5 separate regions of the Homo sapiens genome follow, and all the other regions are linked to region 1. Evidence: promoter capture Hi-C in human tissues and cell types (Jung and others, 2019). All regions are on one chromosome and are shown on one strand. The core of a region is centred on a gene start or on the middle of the fragment in contact, and the rest is flanking DNA. Distances in the headings are between cores, read along the strand shown.

What was found. Contacts are between HindIII fragments. The study calls those that stand out against the background at their distance.
Region 2: a contact is called between a fragment that was not itself captured here and the fragment with the promoter of POU4F2 in region 1, in 2 of the 25 tissues and cell types used here (mesenchymal stem cells and small bowel).
Region 3: a fragment that was not itself captured here is called in contact with the fragment with the promoter of POU4F2 in region 1 in 2 of the 25 tissues and cell types used here (dorsolateral prefrontal cortex and thymus).
Region 4: a fragment that was not itself captured here is called in contact with the fragment with the promoter of POU4F2 in region 1 in 5 of the 25 tissues and cell types used here (adrenal gland, aorta, mesendoderm cells and 2 more).
Region 5: a fragment that was not itself captured here is called in contact with the fragment with the promoter of POU4F2 in region 1 in 5 of the 25 tissues and cell types used here (H1 embryonic stem cells, adrenal gland, bladder and 2 more).

What each region holds. Positions count from the first base shown.
Region 1 is chr4:146,637,608-146,640,336 of GRCh38, reverse strand. It overlaps POU4F2 (POU class 4 homeobox 2), which reads right to left and starts at 1,444. Exons shown (of 2, transcript NM_004575.3): 1 at 909-1,444; 2 at 1-470. The coding sequence starts at 1,196. RefSeq lists enhancers at 764-1,345, 1,346-1,926, 1,927-2,508, 2,509-2,729. The HindIII fragment of the contact is 18,734 bases long and covers 1-2,729 here.
Region 2 is chr4:146,360,357-146,363,056 of GRCh38, reverse strand. All of the region lies in intron 5 of SLC10A7 (solute carrier family 10 member 7), which reads left to right. Among named protein-coding and RNA genes, the nearest start is that of MIR7849, 47 kb to the left of the region's middle. The HindIII fragment of the contact is 5,669 bases long and covers 1-2,700 here.
Region 3 is chr4:146,252,141-146,254,840 of GRCh38, reverse strand. It overlaps SLC10A7 (solute carrier family 10 member 7), which reads left to right. Exons shown (of 12, transcript NM_001029998.6): 12 at 1-860. Among named protein-coding and RNA genes, the nearest start is that of REELD1, 39 kb to the right of the region's middle. The HindIII fragment of the contact is 5,085 bases long and covers 1-2,700 here.
Region 4 is chr4:146,922,551-146,925,342 of GRCh38, reverse strand. All of the region lies in intron 4 of TTC29 (tetratricopeptide repeat domain 29), which reads left to right. Among named protein-coding and RNA genes, the nearest start is that of TTC29-AS1, 10 kb to the left of the region's middle. The HindIII fragment of the contact is 3,987 bases long and covers 1-2,792 here.
Region 5 is chr4:146,940,010-146,942,709 of GRCh38, reverse strand. The region is part of intron 2 of TTC29 (tetratricopeptide repeat domain 29); the gene reads left to right. All of the region lies in intron 1 of TTC29-AS1 (TTC29 antisense RNA 1), which reads right to left. Among named protein-coding and RNA genes, the nearest start is that of TTC29, 4.5 kb to the left of the region's middle. The HindIII fragment of the contact is 6,299 bases long and covers 1-2,700 here.

The sequences.
Region 1 (2,729 bases), core at 195-2,694:
GCGTCCACGTCGCTCATGCAGCCCATGTGCGACGGCAGCCCGTGCGCGTGGGCCATGCTGAGCGCTGCTTGGTGCATGGGGTTCATGGTGGCCATGTGCGGCGCGTGAGCCGGCGTGGACACCACAGCGCCGTCGGGGCCCGCCATAGCGCCCAGGGCCAGCCCGGGACTCAGGTGCTCCAGCAGCTCGCCCTCCAGCGCCTGGTGCGGTTGGTGGTGGTGGTGGTGGTGATGGTGGTGGTGGTGGTGCGTGCCCGCCAACGCGGAAGGGTGCGAGATGGGCACCGATGAAGAAGAGGCGGCCGACGTGCACGGGATGGTATTCATAGTGTGGTAGGTGGCGTCCGGTTTGAAGGGGCTGTGGTGGGGTGGATGGTGGTGGTGGCTCTTGCTCTGGGAGACGATGTCCACGGCTGCCAGAGCCTCGGCGCGGGCCAGCAGACTCTCATCCAGCCCGCCGAATATATTGCTCTGCAATTGTAAGTAGAAGGCACACATTACGCTCAGCAGGGAATTGTACGCCCTCTCTCCGGAAGCCCCGGCCCAGGGCTCGACACCGTCGCCGCGCCTACAACATTCCCAGATCGTTAAAATAATAATAATAATAATCCTGAAAACAGAGGTGAAGAGAAAAAGAGGGAAGCCACAGAAAGAAGCCGAGAGTGCAGGAGGAGGAGGAAAGTGAGCCTGTAGACACAACGAAACACAACACAACACGCGCACAGGCAACATCCCAGGTCATAAAAATTAATATGAAAGGCAAGACCTGCTGAATACTTAAGAGAGAGAGAGGGGAAAATTGGTTGGAGGTGTGGGGTGATTTGCTGTGCAGACATGAAAAAAACATCAAGCAGATAAAGGGGGCTGTCAAAATGTGCCTTTAAGCGGTGATTATGCAGAAATACGCACCGGTGGGGTTGGAAGACAGGCTCTCCGCATAGCCTCCGAGCCCCCGCCGCCGCTGCTGCCACTGCTGCTGGAGCTGCTGCTTCGGCCTCCGCCGCCGCCGCCGCCGCCGCCGCCGCCGCCGCCACCACCAGCGTTGCTCGAGCTGCTGGGGGAGCTGGCCGAGGGCGCGATGGGAGCCGAGGAGCCCGGCGAGGTGCTGTGCAGTGCCGAGTACTTGGGCTCCACGTGCAGGCTGCCGCCGTGCGGCATGCTAAACGCCTGCTTGCTGTTCAGGGACATCATCATCATCTTCCCGCCCGCCGGGGCGCTGGTCCGTAGAGGCACTCACTGGTCCCGGCTGCCGGGACCCTCCGAGAAGTGCCGGGCCAGCCGGGGCTGGAGCTGGGAAGGGCTGTGCGAAGTTGAGCTCACCCGCCGCCGCCTCCGGACTCTGTACGCCTGATCTCGGCTACGCGCTCCTTCGCCGCCTCTGCTGTCAGTCTGAACGGATGCCTGACTCCGCTTGCCGCTAGCTGCAGACCTCGGCACCCGAAACTGCCCCCGCTCCTCGCGGCCGGCGAGTTATACTCCCCTCTCCCCGCGCCTACCCCCGCGCCCCCCGCCCTCCCTCTCTCCCTCTCTCCCGCGCGCCTCCGCCCTCCCTTGCCAGGAAACGCCGGCTCCTGTTCGGTTTCTCGCGTTGCCCCTTCTTCCTCTCTACTCCCCTCAGGCTTGAGTCCTTTCTGCTCTCTCAGCACTCGCCTCGCGCTCCCCCACCGCGCCCTCCGCCGCCTCTTTTCTGCCCCCGCCCGTGCTCTGTTGCCGCCGCCCCTTCGCAGCGTCCCGCGGCTGCTACTCACAATCGCGCCCCCACTCAACCCCACCCAAATGGCCAGGTCCGCGCTCCAGTCGCCGGGCAGTGCCTACCTAAGGACCAGCCTCCAGCCCCTCCCGCTTCTTCTGCCGGGTCTCTGTCTCACCGGAAAAAGAAACTCCCAAATAAAGTTGCGGCCCAAGCCAGCGTTGGGTAGGTAAGAGTGCCTCTTACCTGGCTGCCACCTCCTACGCCTCCTGCTTACCACTAAGTTCCAGGCTTCCAACCCCACTCGGCCCGCCCCCACCCCGTCAGCTCAGGTGACCCTGATCCCAGGTTCCCGGCCACCGCTGAGAACACAGACGTTGCGGCCAACCCGGGTTCTGCGCGCGGCTCTGAACTCCCAGCCCAATACGAGCGGAGGTCGGCGTTCGGCTACGAGCCCCCCACGGCCCGGCGGGTGCCTGGTGCCAAAGAGACATGGGGTCGGAGGGGCTGCAGGGCTTTCTCTCACTCGATTTCTCGCAGCTCTCAGCGGATTGGACAGCCGCGGAGCAGGCTCGGGTCGTCTGTGCGCATGCGACTCCTCCCCCTCCCCGCTGTCCCCACCCCTCCCACAACACACACACACATACACACAGGCACACACACACGCTCCTCTTGCCCCCCTTTTCTCTTCCTCCTCCTCCCTGTATCCAGTACAGTTCGAGTTGAGTCTTGGAAGGATCCACTGGCAAACCCTGCCCCTGGATTTATTATTCTTCATTAGCCACAATCAAAGGAAGAAGGGGCAACTGACAGGGAGAGGGAAGGTCAGAAATTACACAGCGCATATGCTGCTGAATACACCCCACAACACAGACACACACACACACACCCTCGGGGGCTGGCACAAACCTCACTTATCTTCATTTCCACAGCCTCTCGGTGCGGAGCCTATTTTTAGCTGACACTTCACTCCCACTTCTGTCCCAGTCCCAGTGCAGACCACTTTTCCTAGAGATGGACACACACTCTTGGTTCCAGTT
Region 2 (2,700 bases), core at 63-2,562, 280 kb after region 1:
TGATTGGAGAATTTGGTCCGTTTACATTCAGTGTTATTATTTATAGGTAAGCACTTACTACTGCTTTTTTTATTATGTGTTTTCTGGTAGTTTTGTTGGTCCTGTCTTTTTTATTTTCTTTCTGTTTTCTTTTGTTTATAAGTAATTTTTCTCTCACAGTATCTTTTAATTTCTTGCTTTTTACTTTTTGTGTCTGTGTTATAGATTTTTGCTTTGTGTTTAGCATGAGGCTTGCAAATAACATCTTATAACCAATTATTTTAAAACGATGAAAACTTTAATCACAAAGAAAAAAACACGCAAGGAAAAAACTAAAAATCTCATGCTTTAAATTCATTCATTTCACATTTTGACTTTTTGTTGTCTCTATATCTTATTATATTGTCTATTATCAAATTGTTGTAGTTATTATTTTTATTAGATTTAATCTATTATTTTTAATAGATTTGTATATTCATTCTACTGAAGATATGAGTGGTTTACATTATTAGAGTATTCTGTATTTGTGTACTTACATTTACAACATTATTTGTTCTTCATGTTTGAAAGATAATTTTGCTGTATATAGTATTACAGGTTGAAATATTTTTTCCTTCAGCATTTTGAATATGTCATCCCACTCCCTCCTGGCCTGTAACGTTTTCATGGAGAAGTCTGCTGCCAGACATATCAGGGATCATTTATATGTTATTTGCCTCTTTTCTCTTGCTGTTTTTAGCATCCTTTCTTTTTCCTTGACCTTTGAGAGTTGGATTATTATATGTCTTGGAGTAGTCTTATTTAGGGTCAATCTGCTTGGTGTTCTTTGACCTTCTTCTACCTGGATATTAATATTTCTCTCTAGAATTGGAAAGTTCTTTATTATTATTTCTTTGAATAAACATTCTACCCTGATTTCTTTCTCTACAGCCTCTTAAGGCCGATAACTCTTAGATTTGATTTGCCCTTTTGAGGCTATTTTCTATGTCTTGTAGGCATACTTCATTCTTTTTTATTCTTTTTTATTTTTCCTTTTCTGGCTGTGTATTTTTATATACCTGTCTTCAAGCTCACTAATTCTTGCTTCTGCTGGATCAATTCTGCTGTTGAGAGACTGATACATTTTTCGGTTTGTCAATCAAATTTTTCAGCTCCAGAATTTTTGCTTGATTTTTAAAAGAATGTCAATCTCTTTGTTAAATTTCTCTAACAGAATTCTGAATTTCTTCTCAGGTGTTATGTTGAATTCATTGAGCTTCCTGAAGACAGCTGTTTTAAATTCCATGTCTGAGAGGTCACATATCTCCATCACTCCAGAATTGGTCACTGGTGCCTTATTTAGTCTGTTTGTTGATGTCATGTTTTCCTGGATGTTTCTGATGCTTTTGGACATTTATCCATGTCTGAGCATTAAAGATTTAGGTATTTATTCCATTCTTCACAGTCTGGACCTGTTTGTACTCATCCTTCTTGAGAGGGCTTTCCAGGAATTCAAAGGAGTTTTGCAACCTGTGTCTGTGCTCACTGCAGCCATTTCAGCACTAGGGGGGTGCCATAAGCCCAGCAATACTGCAACTGTTGCAGCCTTCTAGATAAATGACCCTGGCAGACTTGTGGAAATAAGGGAGAATTTCCTGGATTACCAGGCAAGTCGGTCACTTTCTACATGTCTTTACAACCTTCTTGATGATCTGTTTAGAAGCTATATTGTGAAAGAATATAATTTTTATTTGATGGTTTATTTTGCATTTTGATTATCTGTTATATTTCTCATTGAACAATAAATCACAAAATATTTTGCCAACATTTTTAACTTTAAGTAATATTTGTTGAGTGCATACCACAAATTAGGCATTATATGAGTGCCACAGAACAATAAGAAGCAAGATAGATTGCCCTGCTTCCTCAGAGTTTTCATCTAGTGGAGAAGACAATTATTAAAATATAATGTGATAAATGCTATGATAGGAGAAGATAGGGAACTATGGGAGTATATGTTAAAGACTTTAATCCATTCTAGGGACCTCAGGAGTGCTGATACCTGAAAGATGAGGAAAGGGGTTGTAGGGAGTAGAGAGCAGAAAATACATGTTCCTAGTAGAGGGAACAGCATGCACAGAGGCCCAGCCCAGAGAATAAGTTCATTGAACTTATAGGTGAGCCGGGGGGTGACCTAATCAGATCTGTATATTTGTTGACTCCTAAGCTCTGAAGACCAACTTCCAGGCTTTGAATCCTAGTTTACTTCTTTCTTGCTAAACGAACTTGGGAAAGTACTCTTCCTCTTCAAGCTTCAGTGACTTGATTTAAAAAGAAAGAGAGGCTGGGCATGGTGGCTCATGCCTGTAATCCCAGCATTTTGGGAGTCTGAGGAGAGAGGACTACTTGAGCTAAGAAGTTTGCAACCAACCTGGGTAATGTAGCAAGACCTTGTCTCTACTAACAAAAAAACAAACAAACAAACAAACAAAAAGCCAGGTGTGGTGTTGCCTGCCTGTGTTTCCAGCTACTCAGAAGGCTGAGGCAGTAGGATATTTTGAGCCCAGGAGTTTGAGGTTGCAGTGAGCTATGATTGTGCCACTATACTCCAGCCTGGGCAACAAAGCAAGACCCTGTCTCAGAGATTAAAAAAAAGAAGAAGAAGAAAGGAAAGAGGAATATAGTGCCTTCTTCTCAGGGTATTTTTAATATTAAATGTGATCAAGCTTATAAAGAATCAAG
Region 3 (2,700 bases), core at 85-2,584, 390 kb after region 1:
GTGTCTAAAACTACAGTAATTTTGCTTAGGTAATTGTGCTTACCTATGGAGCACAGGAAGGCTCTTAGGTTTTGTTCCTACAAGTTTCTTTGAATTTTGGAGTAAATGGAAGTGTCTGTCTGTCTGTCATCTATCTGCCCTATCATAAAAATCTTTCTCCCTAACATTAAAATACTGATCCCCGCCCCCAACTTATCTACCTCTATTGTCTAACACCTATAGTAGGTGTGATCATGGGATAAAATTCAACTGAAAATGCTATGATAACATTTTATCGTTTGCTTTAAAAATGTGCTTTGTTTTCAAATAATCTTTACATAGTGAACTTTGGTGGCGTTAGTGATATGTTTATGCCTATTTCTTTTTTTTACACAAATTCCTTGGCATATTTTTTCATAAAGAACAAAAAATAAAATCAAAATTTATTTTTAATTCATGCTTATTGGGATTTAATTATTCAGAGCTTAAAATATTTTGTTATGTTTATACACTGTAAAGCTATCTGTTTTATGCATTTGTTTTGTCTAAATGTATTTATGAAAGAAATACATTAGATTATATTTATGTTTACTCATTTTTCCACCTGGATTTTTTTTAATGGTTGTTACAAAATTAGATTTTTTAATGGGTAATAATGTTGGTATTTTCATGTTTTTTCTTAGTATTAAAATTTTTGTGGGTTTTTTAAAATTTTTCCCTATTCTGTTAAAAATTAACACACCTCTAGCTAATGTTCAGTGTTTGTGCTAAATACCAAATTTTTTCAAAAGGATTGGTTAAGTCATAAAGTGGATTATTTATGATGACTGGAAGATGAAAATAATTATATGATTAAACAAAGAATGTTTCAGAAATCACAAGAGAAACTGTGGCTTATTTTTAACCTGATTTCAGATGGCCTTGTGATGCCTTCTAAGTGTCTTTAGATTTCTCTTGATTCATTTCTGCACCGTTATGTCATTTGTCGTTATATAGATGTAAACTTCATAGTCTCCCGGGTATTTCTATGGGTACCTCCACCACACCATGATGTTAAAATCTAGAGGTAGCCCTTGCCTTTTTATGAGAGATATTTTCTCTGCATCAAGGTTTAGGACCAAAAGGAAAACATATGCAGCAGAAGGGACAAAATGTAAGTGATCTGAATTTCAGTTTTGAGAAATAGGAATGATAAACCTTAGAATGCCATTCCCAACACCAGTGTTTCTTTGATGAGCAAGCTACCTTGTATAGAATTTCATACCTTTGTGTTCTTGTCTTTGCTGTCTTCTTGGCATAGAAATCCTCTTCCCCTGGAAGCCTGACAAAAATGTCACCTCCTCCATGAAGACTTCCCAAGCCAGTGCCATACTTGCGTCCTTTGACATGTCCTTACAACGTGTCCCTCAAGTCTTCTGAAACCTCTGCATAGTTTAATCATTAGTTTATATTGCTGTCTCCTCCAGTGCAGTAAACATTTCTGTTTTTCTACTGTGCCTCGCACAATGCCTGGCTCAAAGTAGTAGCCAAAAAATGTGTATTGACTTTTCAAATTGTGATCTTAATAGGTAGGACATGAACCTTCACAATTACAAGCACTCTTCTCTATATCGGGTCATTATTAATTTATAAGGAAAACTGACTCTTTTACTACAATTCCTATTGTGAATAAACTGTGAAGCACTGCCTTGTGCTCCTCATAGGAATATATTACTTCATAGCTGTGTAAATATTAACTCTCCAAGGCAAGACTGCAGGTATGATATGCAAGCAACTTTCATCTTGCATGCCTTGACAGAACAATAGACCCTCAGTAATTTAAGCTAAATCAAGTTAGATCGATCTGAATTGATGAAAGCTTTATATACATAAAAAATAAAAGATTTCCTTATAGAAATTCTGATGTACTTACTTTAAAAACTAGATAAAAATTATCATCGTCAGTTTGTATACAGGCAATATATGAAAGGTCTTATAAGACTTTCTTTAACAAATCTTAGTTGCACTATAGGACAGTTTTTCTCAAATGTGAGTAAAATGCAAAACCCATTTAAAGGGAAAAAAATTTTGTAGACTCTGGAGAACTTCTCTTCAAACCTGATTATGAGAAACTCTGTATTAAACATTGAACACTGTCACTCTAGCAGGGTGCGGTGTGGTTGTCAACACGAGTGCAAACAAAGGCACTGAAATCACAGGGTCATGCTGGATCATAGGGTCCTCATCCAAATCACCTGAAACGGGCTCTCCCAGATCTCCACCCACTTCTGAACTCTCCGGCATCTCAAACGCCATGGCTGTTCTCTTCTGTGAACTTCATCCACCCAGACATGGAATTCAGCTCCAGTTACTTGATCACTACAGAAGTCTCAACACACTGAAAGTCTGGGGATGTACAAACTTTTTTCTTTTTTTCTTGATATGGAGTCTCGCTCTTGTCACCCAGGCTGGAGTGCAGAGGCGTGATCTCAGCTCATTGCAACCTCTGCCTCCCAGGTTCAAGCGATCTCCTGCCTCAGCCTCCCAAGTAGCTGGGATTACAGGCACTTGCCACCAAGCCTGGCTAAGTTTTTGTATTTTTAGTAGAGATGGGATTTCATCATGTTGCCCAGGCCAGTCTCGAACTTCTGAGCTCAGGCACTCTGCCCACCTCGGCCTCCCAAAGTGCTAGGTTTATAGGCATGAGCCACCACGCCCGGCCTGGGGATGTGCAAACTTAAA
Region 4 (2,792 bases), core at 104-2,603, 290 kb before region 1:
AGAAAGAAGAGGAGAAGTAGAAAAACCCATAATTTTTGTTGGAGATTCCAACATCACTCTTTCAATAGCTGGTAGAAAAACCAGTAGGAATATAGAAGCCTTGGACAATGCCTTTAATCACCTTAAGTAATTGACACTTACAGAATATTCCACCAAACAACAGTAGAATACATTATGTTCAACTGTGCATGGAGGATTTATCAAAGTAGATTATAGTCTGGGCCATAAAACAAATTTTAACATGTTTAAACAATTTAAATCCTTCCAACTGTGTTCTCCTACAGGAATGAAATTAAGTTAAAAATGATAGCAGAAAGAGTTTTGGAAAATCTTCCCGAATTGGGAAGCAAGACAACATACTTCTAAATAACCCCTGAATCAAAGAAGAAATCACAAGTCAAATTAGAAAATATTTTAACTGAATGAAAAAGAAAACACAGCATGTCAAAATTTGTGGGATACAGCTAAAGCAGTGCTTAAAAGGAAATTTATAGCATTAAAATGCTTGTATTAGAAAAATATAAATATCCAAAATTAATTTTCTAAGTTTTCATTTTCAAAAACTGGAAAAAGAAAGCAAATTAAACTCAAAGTTAGTAGAGAAAAAGGAATAGTAAAATAAGGGCAGAAAGCAACCAAAAAACCCATGAAACTAATGCTGGTTCTTTGAAAAAAAATTGATCAACCATTCGTCAAACTGATCAGAGAAAAAATAGAAGACACAGTTTACCAATTTGGGAAATGAAAAGGGACATATTACTACAGATTACACAGATATTAAAGTGTTACTAGGAGATAAACTTTATGCTGATAAACTCAACGACTTAGATGAAATGGCTAAATTTCTCAAAAGACACTGCCAAAGTTCACTTACATAGAAACAGATAACAGAAGAGATTTATATTTATTAAAGACATTAAATCTATAGTTAAAAAAACTTCCTACAAAGAAAATTCCAGCCCCATGTGGCTCCACTAATGAATTCTACCTAACATTAGGGGAAGAAATAATGACAAACTCAACACGAACTCTTCAAGAAAATAGAAAAGGAAGAAACAGTTCTCAACTAATTCTCTGGCAAATAATATGATTAAGCAGCTGAAAGATCTTCATGACAATGTTAATATAAACCTATCACATGTATTAATTAGGGTTAAGGAGATGATCAGGAAACTGAGATTTAAGTGTATTAAGTATATTCTTAAGTGCAGAAAAGTAATATAGCACATGCTATATATATGTTATTTGTTGAATATAAAATATTAATCTAAAAAAATAAAACCAGTAATATTTGCAAATCAGTTGTCCTAAAAACTTTACCCTGAATTGAAATGTTCCTTTTATTAAATGCCAAATTTTCATGTGTGTATGCATATACCTATACACATACATGTACATATATATTCTGTTATATTGATTTATTTGCCTTTTCTTATATTAATGCCACTAATCTTTTTATCAATATAGTTGAAATGCATTCTTATATTTGGCAGACAGTCCCTTTTGTTCCAAATGAGAAAGTTTTTCTTGTATATTCACTGTTTTATATGAATTTTAGAATTATCTTGTCAAGAGTTGGGGAAATATCATTAAGCTTTTATTGGGATTGTGTTAAGTTCATATGTTATTTTAGGAGAACTGACATTATTAAAATACTGAGTCCCACATTAACAAGGACCTTTCATTTCAATGATGTTACATAATAGCATTGACAGCGGCGTCTCTTCACATTCCTGGCTTCAGTGAAGACTATTCTAATGTATCCCAAAGAGAAAGCCCTTTGCCATAGGTTTTTTAATAGATACACGTTACCAAGATAAAGAAACTTTTTTTTAGTTTCTATTTTTCTTAATCATGTGTGAGTGTTGAACCTTGTGAAATAATTTTCTAGCACCTACTAGATTATTTAAAGTTACTAGATTTTCTATTTTGAACTATTCTTCCAATTCTGAGATAAACTCTACTTACGATGGTTTCGATTTATTGACTTCTCTGTGTGTTAGTGTGCACGCGCGTGTGTGATTTTTGTATCTAAATAATAATGATATTGAGCTACGATTTTAATTTTCTTATGCTACAGTTTAAGGTTTTGTAAAATTGGCTAAAGAATTTTTATCTTATTCAATTAAAAGTGAGGGCAAATTAAAAATTTTTTCAGATAATGCAAGGACCTAGAAACATCTCTTCCTCTGCAGTCTTTCTGGGCCCTCCCCCAGTGAAAGAAATTACAATGGTTACTTGTATTTTGTAAAATTGACTAAATAATTTTTTATCCGTTTCAATGCTCTAGCACATTTTGGATGAAATGGGAATTTCTTAGTATTGAAAATTTGGTAGAACTCCCATGTAAAACAGAATAGTTTCTCTCCTTTGGTGAGAGTAGGGGTCAGGGGAAAAGGGGTAGGTAGGTCTTGTAACTGGTCTTCTAAATCTTCTCCAGCTATTGTTATTTTAAAAAATAAGTGCCTATTTATGTAAAATTTTATATTTACTGCAATAAAGTTTAACATGATATTTTCTAATAATGTTAAAGCCTCTTCTATATTTCTTGAAATATTCTCTGTATCTTGGAGGGAGTGTAAAGATAATGATGGCTAATAATACGGGGTCTAGGGTTGGACTGCCTCTGTTGATGAACCAGCTCCATCACTCACAGGTGTGTGTGATCTTCAGCATGTTAATTAAACTCTTTGTGCTATAGTTTCCTCATCTGTACAATGGAGATTAAAATGATAGCACCTATCTCATTAAAAATGTTGTCAGGTTTAAATAGGCTAATTACATGTAAAGTA
Region 5 (2,700 bases), core at 74-2,573, 300 kb before region 1:
TTCTCTCCCTTTTTAAATTTACTAGGGCTACACTGGTGTGGGTTAAGAACTTAGATGATTCCGATGTTCACTGTAACATTGGAAGACTCTGGAACTCTGTGGAAAAGTCTTCACAGCTCCTCTGAAGTAAGCTCTTGGGAGGCCCGTTTGGGGAGCTTTGGTGTCCCTTCAAACCTCACATGAGTTATAACTTCTTACCATATGCTCTGTATGATGCTGCCATTTAGTAAGTTCTTGTTATTCCAGTAACTCAACTGTTTAATATAACATCTAATCAGAAAAATAGATTTTTTAAATTAAAAAAATTGTCATTACGTTATGAAGTTATAAAGGGTAATATAGTATGTTTCTAATGTTTAGTCTGTAGGAGAGGACTAACATTTGCTGTTTAGATTGTGCACTTTAAAGCATAGACCCTTTAAAGGGTAGACCCTTTGCTTTCCAATTAATGTTCATTAACTTCCACTCTTAATGCCTTAACTGCATAAAATAAGTGGGCATTTTGTTTCATAGATCATATCATGCCTTGATAAACTGGTAGTACTAGGATTCTGTTATATTTAAAATAAACCACTGATCTCCATTAGAATTCTCTTTAATTATGTAAAAAATTATTTTTAGGCCAGGATAATAATCTTTTTCAGTAACACAAAGCTGTCTATTTCTACACTGAATTTCAGAAGATTTTCTCTCGTCTTAGTGCTTCTGCACCCCTACCTCCACCATGGCTTTGTAGCACTAGAGGAATATTGTGTCTTAGCTATCCACAGGTGGTTCTATTTCAGGTTTGACTACATCTCTCCTTCTCTACTCCTACCTAAGCCACCACTCTCTCTCCCCTGTATTTCACAGGAGGTTTTGGGCTGGCCTCTCTGCTGTCTACCCTTTCCCCCACTACAGTCTAACCTGAAAGAAAAACTCAGAGTGATTTTTTCAGGATGCAAGTCAGATCGTGTCAATTCTATGCTCTGTATCCTCCAATGGATTCTTACCTCAATAAGAATAAAAGCCAGTTTTTAGAGTAACCATCAAGACATTACACTATTGGGACACCGAACAAAATTCTCCATAACGTCTTTGAGCTTGTCTCCTTCTGCTTTTACTCATCCCTTTGCCATTGGTGAGCATCTGGGTAGTTTCTAGTGCTCTGCTTTGTTTTCCAGCAGAGAATCTTATCAACATCTGAGGTTCTATATATTTTGCTTATTTGTTTAGTGTCTTTCTCCCTATTTACCCCCATACTGCAAAGTCTGTGAAATCAGAGAGTTTTGTCTTTTTCTTCACTGCTGTATCTTTGGCACCTAGAACAGTGCCTGGCACCAAATAGGAGCTCATTAAATATCTGCTGAATATATTCAAGGCCCAGATTTTATTGTGATTTTCCCTGGGTCACACAGGTAGTAATGCTGAAGATAAGCCATTTAAAACCTAAAACAAGCCTTTCAGCTTCTTGGTGAAGCTAAGAGTACAGGTCAAACCTGGTGGACATAGACGGGGTGGGATCAGGAGCCCCTGGCCTTTTGGATGCCTCTCTATTTAACAGAAGCATGGGTTCTTTTGTATCTGACAGCCCTTGCACCATGTAACAATTTTTCTATTCTAAGTTCACAGATGTCATGTCCACACTTCTTCCTCTTTGGAATAGGATTTAGATAATTTGATTTTATAGACTTGCCTTCCTAATTGCTCACCACTCTGGCACACTGCATTTTCCAAAAAGGGCTGCAATAATATCTCCCATGCCATATTCTTTTATTATAATGAAACTTTGACACTCTCCTATCAATAGGTGGTTCTGTATTCATTTGCCTTGAATCTGGGTGAACTTGTTATTACAGTAGAAGTGGATGCTATGTGACTTCCAAGGTTAGACCCTAAAAGGGGATAAAGCTTCTGCCTGGCTTTTCTCTAAAATACTTGCCTTTGGAGCCTGGAGCTGCTATATAAGAAGTCTTAGGTTGCCATGATGTGAGGGAGTCCATGCCACATGAGGAGACCACATGTGTGAGTTCTGGCAGATAGCCCCAGTTGAGTCCCAGCTAACAGCATCAACCACTAGAAAAGTGAGTGAAGACACTTCAAGGTGATTCCTGTCCCCTGTCATTGGGTTACTACAGCTTCTGAGTTTTCTCAGCAGAGGCTCCCATCATCATGGAGGAGAAAAAATCCATGCCTATGATACCCTGTCCTTATTCCTGAACCATGTAAAGTGTGAGATAAAGTTGTTTTAAACAACTTTTAAAAAACAGTACATTTTGAAGTGATTCATTATATTGTTATGGCTGTGTGCTTTCTCAGGGTAGCTGTCTCCTTGTTGAGAATTGTTCTTATCATCTATCACATCTAAGGGAAAGCCTTTATTTGTGAGCGATAAGGCTTTTAGAAAACAGCAAGTATAAGCAATTTTCAATTATTGATTGTAACAGGAAAGCAACACATAAACATTGGAAATCCATAGCTATCCTTAAAATCTTTATTCTTTAATTGCAATCATGTCCCTTACAAAACTCTTACCAAAGATGCCAACTGAACCATCAATGCATTTATCAAATTTTCTTCTTATCTACTTTGTGCTGAAGATACAGACAAATAATAAGTTGGCCAAAAAGCAGACAATGGAAGAAAATAATGAGAGAAGCAACCTGCAGAATCCACTCACTGAGCATGATTCCCGAATAACACAGCTGTAGCACTACACAT